Regions from separate parts of the Homo sapiens genome. Here all the other regions are linked to region 1. Evidence: promoter capture Hi-C in human tissues and cell types (Jung and others, 2019). All regions are on one chromosome and are shown on one strand. Each heading gives the region's core, a stretch centred on a gene start or on the middle of the fragment in contact. The rest is flanking DNA. Distances are from core to core; before and after follow the strand shown.

What was found. Contacts are between HindIII fragments. The study calls those that stand out against the background at their distance.
Region 2: a fragment that was not itself captured here is called in contact with the fragment with the promoter of TMEM184C in region 1 in 2 of the 25 tissues and cell types used here (dorsolateral prefrontal cortex and mesenchymal stem cells).
Region 3: a fragment that was not itself captured here is called in contact with the fragment with the promoter of TMEM184C in region 1 in 1 of the 25 tissues and cell types used here (dorsolateral prefrontal cortex).

Annotation. Positions count from the first base shown.
Region 1 is chr4:147,614,650-147,619,204 of GRCh38, reverse strand. TMEM184C (transmembrane protein 184C) reads right to left here and starts at 1,808. Exons shown (of 10, transcript NM_018241.3): 1 at 1,126-1,808. The coding sequence starts at 1,248. TMEM184C-DT (TMEM184C divergent transcript) reads left to right here and starts at 1,960. Exons shown (of 2, transcript NR_186679.1): 1 at 1,960-2,117. RefSeq lists enhancers at 1,389-1,438, 1,469-1,588. The HindIII fragment of the contact is 7,307 bases long and covers 1-2,561 here.
Region 2 is chr4:147,081,739-147,086,293 of GRCh38, reverse strand. The region is part of intron 2 of LOC105377476 (a long non-coding RNA gene); the gene reads right to left. Among named protein-coding and RNA genes, the nearest start is that of TTC29, 140 kb to the right of the region's middle. The HindIII fragment of the contact is 4,512 bases long and covers 1-4,348 here.
Region 3 is chr4:147,099,313-147,103,867 of GRCh38, reverse strand. No RefSeq gene overlaps it. Among named protein-coding and RNA genes, the nearest start is that of TTC29, 160 kb to the right of the region's middle. The HindIII fragment of the contact is 6,894 bases long and covers 1-4,555 here.

The DNA of each region.
Region 1 (4,555 bases), core at 559-3,058:
AATAAAAATAAACAACAACAACAACAAGTAAGTATATGGGGCTGGGTGCGGTGGCTCACACCTGTAATCCCAGCACTCTGGGAGGCCGAGGACAGATCACCTGAGGTCAGGAGTTTGAGACCAGCCCGACCAACATGGAGAAACCCCGTCGCTACTAAAAATACAAAATTAGCCGGGCGTGATGGCGCATGCCTGTAATCTCAGCTACTCGGGAGGCTGAGGCAGGAGAATCGCTTGAACCCAGGAGGCGGAGGTTGCGGTGAGCCGAGATCTCGCCATTGCACTCCAGCCTGGGCAACAGGAGCAAAACTCCGTCTCATAAACAAACAAACAAAAAACTATATGGACTATGCTAGTATGGGAAAGTCATCAGAAAATAATTTAGTGTAAATAGAGAACACAAATGTATATTAAATACAGTTTATGTAAAAATCATTTCCACAATAAAGAAGGGCCTAAAATAGTCATGGTCTTATTATAGTTCTTGTAATAGGTGTTCCTCTGTAAAAGTACTTGGTGGGTTTTATTAACTCCGAATTTAAAGTTCATTATATAATATTTATATCTGAGTTATTTACCTTGGGGTTTTCCAGCTTGTAGTACATTACTGATGTCACAATAAGCATATGACATCAAAAAATATATATAAGGGACTTTTTGCAAAACCTTTGTTGGGTAAGAGCTAATTTCCACAGTAAAAACAGACACCAAAGTTAAAACAACTAGAACGCTTTGATTCAAGAAGCTAGTTAAAAGCTAATAAAATTCAATACATGGTTTTCAAGGTAGTTTATTTGACCTAGTTTCGTCCAATGTCTGAACAGATCAGATTTCAGCAATAAAATTACCTTACTTTCAGGGAACTGATGAATACTTGCAAAACAGTGCCCTTCTAAGCAGCTATATTAATATATTCTATTTTCTCGACCCGGTCCCACCTCCACCTGTAGCATGACTTGAAGAACCGTGAACAAGAAATTAGACAGGTTTATATCCTAAGAGTAGGCTCGTTTACATTAGATGGTTTTCAGGACTGTCAGGGCAGAAATGGGGTAAGGGTGTCTCTTTCCCAACCATAGATGGGTAGAAGAAAGTGTACAGGCTGATGGTGCAGAACCCTCTTACCTCCAGTTTCTGTAATTCCCACACGCATAGGGGAACCGCAACCACTATTGACACCAGGTAGATGACCGCTACTAAAGGTCGAATCCACTGTCTCCAGTTCCTCCAGGTACAAGTGCAAGGCATGTTTTCGCACAAATCAGATCCGGTTAGCAAGGGAAAAGATCTCGAAAAGATTGTAATGGGGAGCCCTGTTCTCTGGCTGTTTTGTCAACTCGCATACTACGGAGAAAAAGCTGTCGGGCGACTTTACGAACAGCTCGAGCCGCCTCCTGGACCGGCGCTGTGTCTTCTGCTGCTGCTGCTTCTGCAAATGTAGCCTCTCAGGGTGCTATTGGCGAGCAGTGCAGGCAACATCCTTTCTTCTCCACCCCGCATCTACCCGGTTGTACTGCGGTGGAATCCCAGGCAGAGCCGCTGCCCTCACCTGGGGATCGCCCTGAGCTCTGCCTGTACCATGGCTTCCAGGAGAGCAGCACAGACCAGGAACCGGCCTCTAGGGACCCTGCACACTCCGGTTCTGTCTCGCAGCTGCCTGCCCACTCGCTCTTTTCTTTGGGGATCGAGCTTCCTACCTCCCGCACTGGCAGGCGTCTCTTCAGTCGATTCCGCTAGTAGGTAAGGCCCCAGGATCTCCTCATTCTTTCGCACGGGACCTCCCCTACAGCGGAACCCAAGGCCAAACCAAGACTTTCAGCTCTTTTCCGCTTCCGCCCCTGCTGTCTGAGGCAGGTGATTCGTCGTCAGCGCCAAACTGGGCCCGCCCCATCCGACTCACTTTGCGCCCTCTGATTGGTCAGCTGTGGGGGCGGGGCTGCAGGATTGCGTACTGGGGTTAGAAAGAAGAGCAGGTGCGTGGAAGTGGGTGGAATTGCCGCAGATGGTCCAGCGGGCTATTGCAAGGATTCTGGAAGCTGCGGGAATTATTTGAGGACACTTGAAGCACACCTACTACATTCTTCTGCTGGCGTTATTCCAGTTTAAAGAAAGCTTGGGTAAGGGGCGGTTACTTCAGAGTTGGACTGGAAGAGAGAAGGCCCATCTCTACACAAAACATCCCCTATTCAATCTAGAGTGGATACAGAAGCCCGCTGGAGTAAGAAGACAAGGAAGAATGGGAAACCTCCACCTAGTTTTCTGTCAGTTGCTAGAATCTAGGGGCTAGGCCGCTTGGTTATTTCTGGATCCTACAGAAGGATCATTCTAAAGGTAGCTTCATTTTAGAATTAACCGCAAATAGGGAATGTCCCTTCTACATTTGGAACTTGTGTTAAAAATTTGCACTCATTTAAGTTTTAAAAAGTTGACATTCCATCTGACAAAGGAGTTTCATATGCTTAAAGCCTTTAGCTAAACCAATAGAGTAAACAAATATCTACTACTCAATTACATATACAAATGCGTTTTATATTGTAATTGTAATTTTCAGGGGGACAGGCACTGTACTAAGTTCATTACCTACATTATGTAAGTTGTTCTGCACAAAAATTTTGAGAGGTAGGCATTTTTCCACTTTACAGATAAAAAAGTCAAGTGGCTGATAAATTTGCCCAGGCTCACTGAGCTAGTTAAGTGGTAGTGTGGAGATAGCAACCTTGGTCTTTGTGACTCCAAAGGGCATTATATTTAAGCATTTGACCTGCTAGTACCTGCCACCTGGGGAATTTCCGCCTAATGACCATACGGATAAGGAGGCTTGTAACATTGAGTACACCTAGCCCAGGAGTCTCACAGAGACACCTAAGGAATATTATGAGCCCCTTTTTTGGTATCGTCTGTTTGGACTTGACTTCACTGCCTACTTCTCAGTTGTTAACATTTGTATTTTACAACCTGACCCAAACTACTTTCTACCGGAAAAATAGGCCTTATGTTTGTTCTTCCTAAGCTTACTTTAAAAATGGAAATTAAGGCTGGGTGCAGGGGCTCATGCCTGTAATCCCAGCAGTTTGGGAGGCGGAGGTGGGCGGATCATGAGGTCAGGAAATCGAGACTATCCTGGCTAACACAGTGAAACTCCGTCTCTACCAAAAATACAAAAAATTAGCCAGTTGTGGTGGCGGGAGCCTGTAGTCCCAGGTACTCAGGAGGCTGAGGCAGGAGAATGGCGTGAACCCGGGAGGCGGAGCTTGCAGTGAGCCGAGATCAAGCCACTGCACTCCAGCCTGGGCGACAGAGCGAGACTCTGTCTCAAAAAATAAATAAATAAATAAATAAATAAAATTAATTAAAAAAAATTCCTGATCATTAAATTAATGCTTGCTCTGTTGTTAAAGTTCATAAAAAAGAAGAATAATGAAGAGAAAGTTAATTTTACTCTACGGCCAAGTATAACTACTCTTTACTTGTTTGGTACACAGTAGAGGCTATCTTGGATATGCCGTATGCGTAGATTGTCTCTGTGCTTTCAGCTACAGCGTTTTTGCTGCCTATAATCTTTCCCATTCTTTCTCATGGGCAAACTTTTTTTGCCTAATTTGTGAGACCTTCCTTTATTTTTGTTTCCCCATGTATTCTTACAGCATTTATATGGTATTATACTCATTTACTTATTTGTCTTGTTTAGATTTTGAATTCCTAAAGCAAAAATCTAAATCCATTAGAAAAAAGCAAAAGAGAGAAGAGATGAGACAGATGCACAAATGATTTCACATACCAGTTTGCGAACTGGAATTCTTCTATGGTGAAATTTCTTCAGCTCAGCAGAGAAATTAAAAACAAAATTACAGATTGAGTATGCCAAATCTGAAAATCTGAAATTCAGAATGCTCCCAAATCCAAAACTTTTTGAGTACTTATATGATGCTCAAAGGAAATGCTCCTTGAAACACTTCAGATTTTGGATTTTCAGATTTGAGATGCTCAACTGGTATGTATAATGCAAATGTTCCCCAATCTGAAAAAATCTGAAATCCAGAACACTTCTGGTCCAAAGCATTTCAGATGAGATATATGAATTTTTCATTTAGTTAAATTTCTTCACTCTTAAGGACCATGTTTTATTTTGAAATTGTCTATCCTATTTTTTAATATGATAATAGATAGTAGTTGTTCTTCAGATATTTTTACTTTGGAGAATAAAAAGTTGATAGCTTTATTTGCCTACCATTTGTTTCATTTTTTTCTCTTGACCTGTAAGATCCTAAAGTCTAGTAAGGATAGGGAATAGGCCATAATGCTGATGTGATCCTAATCTACTTGCTTTGCTTGCTATAGGCATTCTCTGCATTCTTTCTGGATATGAGAGCCTAAGCCTGAAGGTGGATCTGAGCTTGATGGTGTTTGAAAAATAAGAAATGGTTAAAATTGGCAGATGGTGCTAGGGTCAAAAACAAGCTATTAGTCAATTTTGATGCAAGTTATAGAGGTTAATTGAAGTTTGTTACTGCTGCATCACATGCAAATAGGTGGAATTTGCTATTATTGAAGGATA
Region 2 (4,555 bases), core at 843-3,342, 530 kb after region 1:
TTAAATCACCCACTCTTTCACGCAACCCCATCTCAGAACTGAGAGTGAATTCAGGAATATTTTTCCAGCCTCGGAATAGAGAATCCTTTGGGAAAATAATTTTAATGGTTATGGATCACTAGCAAATCTTGACTGGTATTTTTTTTTTAAACCAAGCCATCTGGCAGTTGTGTCTTATTTCTTCCTGCTGTCAATGGCTGGACCCACACACATTCCAACCTCATACAAGAATGCCAATGTCTGCACATTTTCACTATGAACAGGCATTTTCAGTCAAAGCAGAGAGAAATGAGGCTCTGCCTGTCTGTGGCAATAACATTAATATTACCTCTGTACAGATGCTTTTAGAAGTATGAAGTTAAATGCAGAGCCCTGGAGATGCCTAGAAGCACACATGAGATAAGCACAGCCATTCACGGAAGACCTAAGAAACTGAGCATTTGCAGGACAAACTTTTCACCATGACAAAGTACAGCAATGTTGCGTATTCCAATATGAGACTGACAGCAGGAAATAATGACAATAAGATAAGTGTAAGATGCATTTATGATGCAGAGAGGTGGAAGATACATTTATATGTATGTATTTGGTCAGAATAAGCAAGGATATTATTAATTACCAATGTAAATTTAGCCTTGGGGAATAAAACAGCTGAAATCTGAAGGCAGCAAAGTCAGTCTGGCTACAGATAAGCTAAGAAGTGTAGATCTGAAATAAACATTCATTACAATCCCTTTGACAAGAAAAACTGTTATATTAGTGGATAGCATTTAGGAACTCAGAGGAGCAGAAGGTCAGCTTCACAACAAAAATGCCAACTGCTAAATGAATGTGCTGAGCAAAACTGGCCAGAGAGTGCCCTCACAAAGGCAGCGGTAGGGTGGGACTGGCCCCTGGGGATGCTGAAGAAAATGCTGGTGTCCAGTGGCTTATTGACCCATTTCACTCTCATTCTTTCAACTGCTGTTAAGTGAAAACAGGGTTACATGTGAGCATACACACCTGTGCATCTGTATACATGCATATTTATTTAATGCCAGCAGTCTCTTTCCTGTTTACCCTTCTAACTTCATAAACAAGAGGAGAACATTTTCTAGGCATTAAAAAAATCTGATAAAGCAGAACCACCCTAACTTATGGGAAAAGAAGAAAAGCATTTAGTCCATTGAGTCAAGCTCATGGAACCAGAAGTATGCTTGGAAATCGGCCATTAAGGATAAAGTTGAGCATTTGCAATCCAGGCACTAGATCTAAATACCTACAATTGTTTGTTCATGTCATGGACTAAATATGCAGGTTGTATTTTAACATTCATTTTGACCCCTGCATTGAATTCTGTAGATAACAAGGCTGTTTTCTATTTGTGGATCATGATAGTGGCCATCAGATGCTCTGCAATGGTGTACTTACCTAAAATGTGAGGCCATGGTCAGAATTATATAGTGTTCATCTTATTTTAAAGAGTTAAAAACTGTAGTTTTAGGAAATCAAGAGATTTTTAGGATTTTACGCATGTGCACTTGGTGAAGATTTCACTACTCTGTAATTCAGGTTTTGCTTTTTATTTTTCATGCAAATAGAACCAAGACACTATTCTCTCCACAATAAGGGAGTTAGAGACTGGAGCCCAGAAATGAGACCAAGCATAGGCTTGGTCTTGACTTTGTACCTTAGCCATGATCGGTTTATTGCATTTTATAGTTGGATCATTCCTTTATTCCATGACTGTGAAGTGTGAGGTGGAGACAACAGGATTAGTAACACATTAAGTGATTTATTCACTTCCATTAATTGCCAACTATATATGAGGAACTATGATAAGTATTAGGGATGCAGAGATGAATAAGACAAGGCCTCTGATTTAGAAGATCTCATAGTTAAATGAAGGAGGTAAATTAGCAGACAAATCATAATACAAATAGTCTAACTGAGACATGACTAAAATGTTCTGGAAATTTAGAGGAGAAAGAAACCCTGCCATTGTGAGAGGGCATTTGACTTGGGTCTTGAGTACTTTTTGAATATTTGTATTAATTCTCCCAGGAAAAATAAAGTGAGGAGCCTTCCAATCTCATGTGTCTCACAAGCCTTCTGCTAAAATGATTGAGATTTGCTTAAAGCTGGCTATATGCTACAGCAACTATATATATATTTTGTTTCTCAGTTTACAAAGTGCTTTCTAGCATGACTCTCACAAAATGCCCTTACCATGGGGATTATTCTCCCCATTTTACATGTGAGAATGCTGAGGCACTGAATGGGAAGTAACTTGCACCAGGGCCTGGATTCAAACATTGCAAATATTGGCTTTCTTCCAATTCCAAAAACTTAAATCTTTTTTCTTGTTTATATAAACAAAAAAGTGTATATATATATACACACACACACACTTTGGAGATACATATATACACACACACACACACACACACAACCTTGATTATAGAAATAACAAATTTCAACAGCATCATTTCATTAAGCTTCCCATTTAAAATGGATCCATTTCATTTATGCTTCTATTGAAGAGATGGATGTTCATCTGGTCCTGTTTCCTATTAGCTAAAAGGAACTTTGGAATTGCTCTGCTGGAAAAGCCCATGTTCCATCCAACCTAATATTGTGTTGACAACAGAGGCCTCAAGGGATTTGCCAGGGAAGGACATAGTTTTCCTCCCTGACATTAACCTTAAAGGTTAGGTGTACTCTCAGTAGCCATTTATGGCTCTGACATTCATAAATTTGGTCAAAACCTTTATGAATCCATTTATATTCCTTGCCTGTACCTCTTTTGTGATAATGAGCTCCATACGTTTATTATTTTCTTTGTAAAGTAATACTTCCTTTTATTGGTCCTTAACTCACCTCACTCAAGTTTCAAGGGGGTCCTCTACTTCCAGTGAGAAATTGAGGATTAGTAGAATAACTGTGCTGTGTTCAGTTTACAAATGATCTCCAAAATTCTCCGGGTTTATTTTATTTTTGTCTAAAGCAAGAATAAATAAACTGTACATTATATTTTTATTGTAGAGAGACCAATATTTTATTTAAAGATGAAGATTCTGCCTAGTGGCATATTTTTAGTATACTTTTTGATGCTGCTAAAATTTGCTCTAGAAAAATAACCTCATTTTGGTATTTGTAATACACATTTTGCATGTCGAAGGCAGCTCCAATCTGGCTATGGGGAAAGCTTGAGGTAATTTTTGTTGTCTTCTACAACCACTTTTGAAGAGTAAGTATATTGCATATTATGTATATTTGATAACTGATTATAATGGATGATTATAATGGATGTATGAGAGAATATCATGAAGTAGTAGAAGAATGCTGTCCTAGGTGTCAAAGACCTGGTGTTCTAAAACCATTTCTGGACTGTAGATTTCAAGCTTATGAGATTAGGGATTAAATTAGGTAATTTTCAAGATTACTTTGTACTTTAAAATTGTAAGTCCTTGATTTCCTTAGCCATTCACTTGGTGACTTTAACAGAACACAGCCAATCCTAGCTTCTCTAAGCCTCGGCAGCCATCTCCTGATTCTATCACGATTCATTTGCTCTCAGTACTATTGAAGGCTTGTAGATATTTCTTATTTCCCACTCCAGGGATCTCAGTAAATGAAAAAATTATAATTTCCTCACTCTACCCCCTTACACAGATAATTACCTTTCCTACAGATTTTTCTCAAGTGGTGGGTTTATTTTAGGCTCCCCAAGCTTTTCTTGTTTGGAGGTAGGGCTTAAAGGCCTCTTCTGGATCTCTTCTGTTCTAAGTGGTCACCCTTATATTTGATCAGTACCATCCTTTAGAACTCACTACAAACAAAAGTAAATATTCACCAAAGCCTCTTCATTTTCATCTTTCAATTTGCTCAGAATCTTGAGGCTGATGGCTTTCGTCCCAACTACATTTGTTTGTTGACTTGGGTTAAAATTTTTTTCAGCATTGGCCACTTACTAGTTTTGCCATGAGAAGTAGACATTTAATAAGAATTATTTTATTTGCATTTTTTTCAAATGGTGAGTACAGGGTTGCAAAGTTCTCAGCCATTTTTTTTTTTTTTTTTTTTTTTTTTGAGACGGAGTCTCGCTCTGTCTCCCAGGCTGGAGTGCAGTGGGGCAATCTCGGCTCACTGCAAGCTCTGCCTCCCGGGTTCATGCTATTCTCCTGCCTCAGCCTCCTGAGTAGCTGGGACTACAGGCGGCCACCACCATGCCCGGCTAATTTTCTGTATTTTTAGTAGAGATGGGGTTTCACTGTGTTAGCCAGGATGGTCTTGATCTCCTGACCTCGTGATCCGCCTGCCTCGGCCTCCCAAAGTGCTGGGATTACAGGCATGAGCCACCATGCCAGCAGTTCTCAGCCATTTGAATACAACATCACTCTGCTCATCAAACGAACACTCACTCCTTACACACCCGTTTATGACCAGGTCTCCGCTTGCTCTACCCAGACACAGTGACACTTCAAGCACACAGTTCATGGCGTGGTGAAAGCATGTGAACTTACAGGTTTAACAGTCACATCTGTAAAATGGAGCCAGTGATGCCCACATCATG
Region 3 (4,555 bases), core at 1,362-3,861, 520 kb after region 1:
TGAACCCTGAGGAAACTCAGTACACATTCTAAGGACAGTCACGCCAGAAGCTTGCCTCCCCAGGCTTCATGCAGCCCCAGTGAGTCAGGCAGAACTTTCCCAGCAAAGCAGCCTGTGTGTCACAGTGGACCAAGGCGAGCTCCTGCTGTTATAAATAGATTCTTAGTGGGACTGGGAAGGGCATGGAGACACCAGAAAATATAGCAGTTCTGGGTGGGGTGGCAGACTGAGGACAGAAAGTGGTAACAGACTATGATGCAAGTTAAATTGATGCCAGAACCTAGGCTTCTGCTATTAACAGTGTTTCCTTTCTCAGAAGGGACTAACTGGGCAGTTCTTTGGCTCCAACTGACTTCTACCCCCCTTGCTAAATCATTTGATTTCTGCTGGCTCGCACCCTCTTTGCTTCTTCCTGGCAAGCTCTTGGGCTGATTTCCAATCGCTTCCCCTTGTGGGTACCCTTTTCCAGGGTTACTTGAGGTCGTGCAGTTGTTTTGTTTCTTCACAGACTTTTAGGCAAAGTTATTCCACATGGCTCTTTAAAGGCCACCCAAACTACAAATTTCTTAAAAATATATGTGCATATACATGGGGAAAAATCATAAATTTGAGTAAAAATGTTCATTATAAAACAAAGCTAAAAAAAAAAAGCCAGTGGCCCCCACACCAAATCTGAATAGACTACATGGTCCAAATTTTGTATTATAACCTTATAGGAATAGATTATGTTTACATTACTATACAAATGCATAGACAAAACTACAATAGCAATATAAAACCTGGAAGGAAATATAAGAAAATATTTATAGGAATCTACCTCATGTAGTACAATTATAAATTATTTTTATGGTTTTCATTATAATTTTCTTCACTTTCAAATTTCTATAATGGTATATATAAGTTTTATAGTAAAAACTATTTAAAAACCACCAGTTGTTTTTTTTTGTTTCCATTTTTACATCAGCTAGTACATACAGTTTTCTAAAACAGCAATAGCTGTGTGCAGCTGGTGGTATATGGTGGGTGGGGTGGGTGTAATATAGGAAGAGGAATGTAGAAAAGAACAGTATGTTCAGAAGAAATGAATTGAGGCTCTTGCTTTAGACATAAAGTATTTTACACAAATTGCCCAAGACTTCTCATTTACAGTCGGTCACAAGCTATAGTGAATATTGGCTGGGTTTTGGCAATGCTGAATGCAATTTTGCCTTTCTTTTCTTTCCTTTTCTTTCTTTTCTTTTCTTTCTTTCTTTTTCTTTTCTTTTTTTTTCTTTTTTTCTTTTTCTTTTTTTTTTTTTGAGATAGAGTGTCGCTCTGTCACCCAGGCTGGAGTGCAATGGCACGATCTCGGCTCACCACAACTTCTGCCTCCCGGGTTCAAGTGATTCTCCTGCCTGAGCCTCCTAAGTAGCTAGGATTACAGGTGTCCACCACCACACCTGGCTAATTTTTTTATTTTTAGTAGAGATGGGGTTTCGTCATGTTGGCCAGGCTGGTCTCAAACTCCTGACCTCAAGTGATCTGCCCTCCTCGGCCTCCCAAAGTGCTGGGATTACAGCCGTGAGCCACTGAGCCTGGCCAATTTTGCCTTTCTAACAACAATTTTCTTTTCAGAAATTAGTTCTCACCCAGTCTAGTTTAACTGTTATCAGGAGCCCCATACTTACTTAGACTGGGGACAGATACACAACCCAAGTCTAGTTATTGAAATGTTCTTTTTGCTGTGAATTTGAACTATGAATAGAGAGACAAAAGAACTGAAAAACTGATTGTAACTCCATTAGGTCCTGGCAGCACCTTGTCATTCCCGCTACCTTGTCCAGGGCCTGCCTTGCTATGTGCCTGTTCCCAAGTCTAACTAAATTCCCTGCTGCTTAAGTTAATCAGAATCAGTTTCTTTTGCTCATGCCTGTGTCATACAGTTATTTTTACAGCTTGACTGGGGCATCTCCATGCTGACCTCCATGAATGCCTGGATGCTTTGCTTTGACACTTGGCCAATTTAAGGTCAGTGGGCTAACTAACCAACTAATCAGTGATTTGCAATGCACTGTTTACAGTCCAGAAGTCCCCTGGCGAAACCCAGGGCCAGAATGTTTGTTGATAGCTTTCACCTGGTGTGACCAGTTGCCTGTCTTGGCTAACAAAGGGGTGAGGGGTTTGGGGAGACTGCTGTCTAGAGGTTTTGAGAAGCCAAGTTCATATCACAAGTCTTGGTTATTTAATCTGGAGAGCAAGCACCTCCTCACACAAATCAGAAGAAACACAGTGCCTGGAGATGTCTCAGATTCCCAGTGCTTGAGTGCCATCTCTTTCTCTTGGTATACCTGAGCTTTTACCTTTATTTGAAGTCTTAGGTGAGTGTGCTTTGTGAAATTTCCTGAGCCCTTTCAGATAACTTAATCTGAGTAATCTTTTTGGGACCCTAACTGACACAGAAGTAAATAGCAGATACAGAGTGACAGAAAACCCTCAGTGATGAAAAGGTCTAAGACAGCGAGTAGGTAGAGGCACGATTTAAGGTGGAGAGAGGGGCTTGGCTAGCTAGGCAGTCTTTTTAAAAACAGTTTTTTTAAATGTTTATTTCTTCAGAGACAGGATCTTGCTCTGCTCTGTTGCCCAGGTTGGAGTGCAGTGGTGCCATCATAGCCCACTGCAGCCTCAAACTCTTGGGTTCAAGGAAGCCTCCCACCTCAGCCTCCCAAAGTGCTGGGATTACAGGAGTTAGCTGCCATGCCTGTCTAACAGTCTTTCATATCAGATCCAGAGAGGGGCAATGTGCAGTCATTTTTCCATGAATGTGTGAAAAACTAGGCGGCATTCTAGACCATTCTTATAAGATACTGTATATCAGAATGAAGTCAGGAGAACCTTTGACTGTTTTGTGAATATGATAGAACCCATTCCTGTTACTGGACAGGTGTCAAAGCCGTGGCTCCGCGGTAGTGCTAATGAGCAGGTTGCTGCTGCTCTTCTTGGGTGCATCTTCCTCACAATTCCATGCCCCGGGTTGCATCCTCTGGGCCGGTTCTACCATTCTCCTGTGGTTGCTTGGTGAATTGTAAGCTAAGATCTAGTCAGGGAATGATATGTTGGGAGTCAGTGAATGATATGTTCCAAAAATGCTGTTAATCTGTGGCTGGGTGTGGTGGCTCACACCTGTAATCCTAGCACTTTGGGAGGCTGAGGTGGGTGGATCACCTGAGGTCAGAAGTTTGAGACTAGCCTGGCCAACATGATGAAACCCTGTCTCTACTAAAAATACAAAAATTAGCTCGGCATAGTGGCGGGTACCTGTAATCCCAGCTACTCAGGAGGCTGAGGCAGAAGAATCACTTGAACCCAGGAGGCGGAGGTTGCAGTGAGCCGAGATCACACCACTGCACTCCAGCCTGGGTGACAAGAGCGAGACTCCATCTCAAAAAAAAAAAAAAAAAGAAGCTATTTATCTACTGGGGTCAAGCTGTGGATGAGTTCTGGTTCACAGAGATTTGCAGGATTCACTGGTTCCATTCCTCTCTTTTTGAAATAATCAATTGCGTTATTGCACTATCACAGTGAAGTTTAAGTCTTTATTTTTTAATCTCCTGTACTGGCTGTGAGCATTTGATTGCTGCAGTTTGGCATTTATCTTCCCATTTTCAACAGTATCAAGCAAATGCCTTGCATATAGTAGGTGCTCAAAAAGTATTTGCAGAATAAGCATATACATGTATATATTTATACATTTGATGACCAAGCTACCAGAAGTTCAAAGAAACCTGTGTTTTTCCTTCTGCTCCACTGTCATAAATTAGAGAGTGACAAAAAGGAAGCACAATAAACTGATAAAAGAAAGAAATGCAGCTTATATCCTCATTTATAAAATGGGGATAATGATCCTACCTACCTCCAAGGGTTGTTCCAAGGATTAAATGAGCTAATTTTTCTAAGCAGTTTCTGGTACATAGAAACCATCCCCCACCACATTCCCTTGGCCATGTAATCACACAATAAACCCAATATCTAAGGCCTTACCAGCAAGGAGTTTGCAATATAAGCTGAAAGGCTGCTATAAGCCTTGTATTCTCTATCACCCTTTCTCTGGGTTATCCTTAGATATTCTCTCCTGGCAGATCTTCCTGCATGTGCACAGACTGGAACAGGAAAGCCCTACTGTATCTCCTTGGCCTCAGGCTACCCGTAAATTCTTCAAGAGGGCTAGTGGAGGCTTTCTATAAACCCATTCTCTCACACCGATCATGCGCCTTTTCATTTCCAAGGGATTAGATAGGAAATACAGATTGCCTAAATTAATCAAGAAACAAATCTTGCATAAGAATACCTTTTGTTCAGGTAAACACAGAAATAGGTCCCATTAAGTGAGAAGTAGAAGGAATAGATTACTAGTAGTAGTGACTGGGATTTCCATCTAAGAAGCTCTTTAGGGACCTCTGCTCTACTAGGGGACCCTGTTTCAATGTGTAAGAGTTACTTTGCTGCTTTTTGAAATATAATGTTATACACTCCACCTTTCAAAGACACACCATCTATTAAAGATGGCTGTCCTCAGACC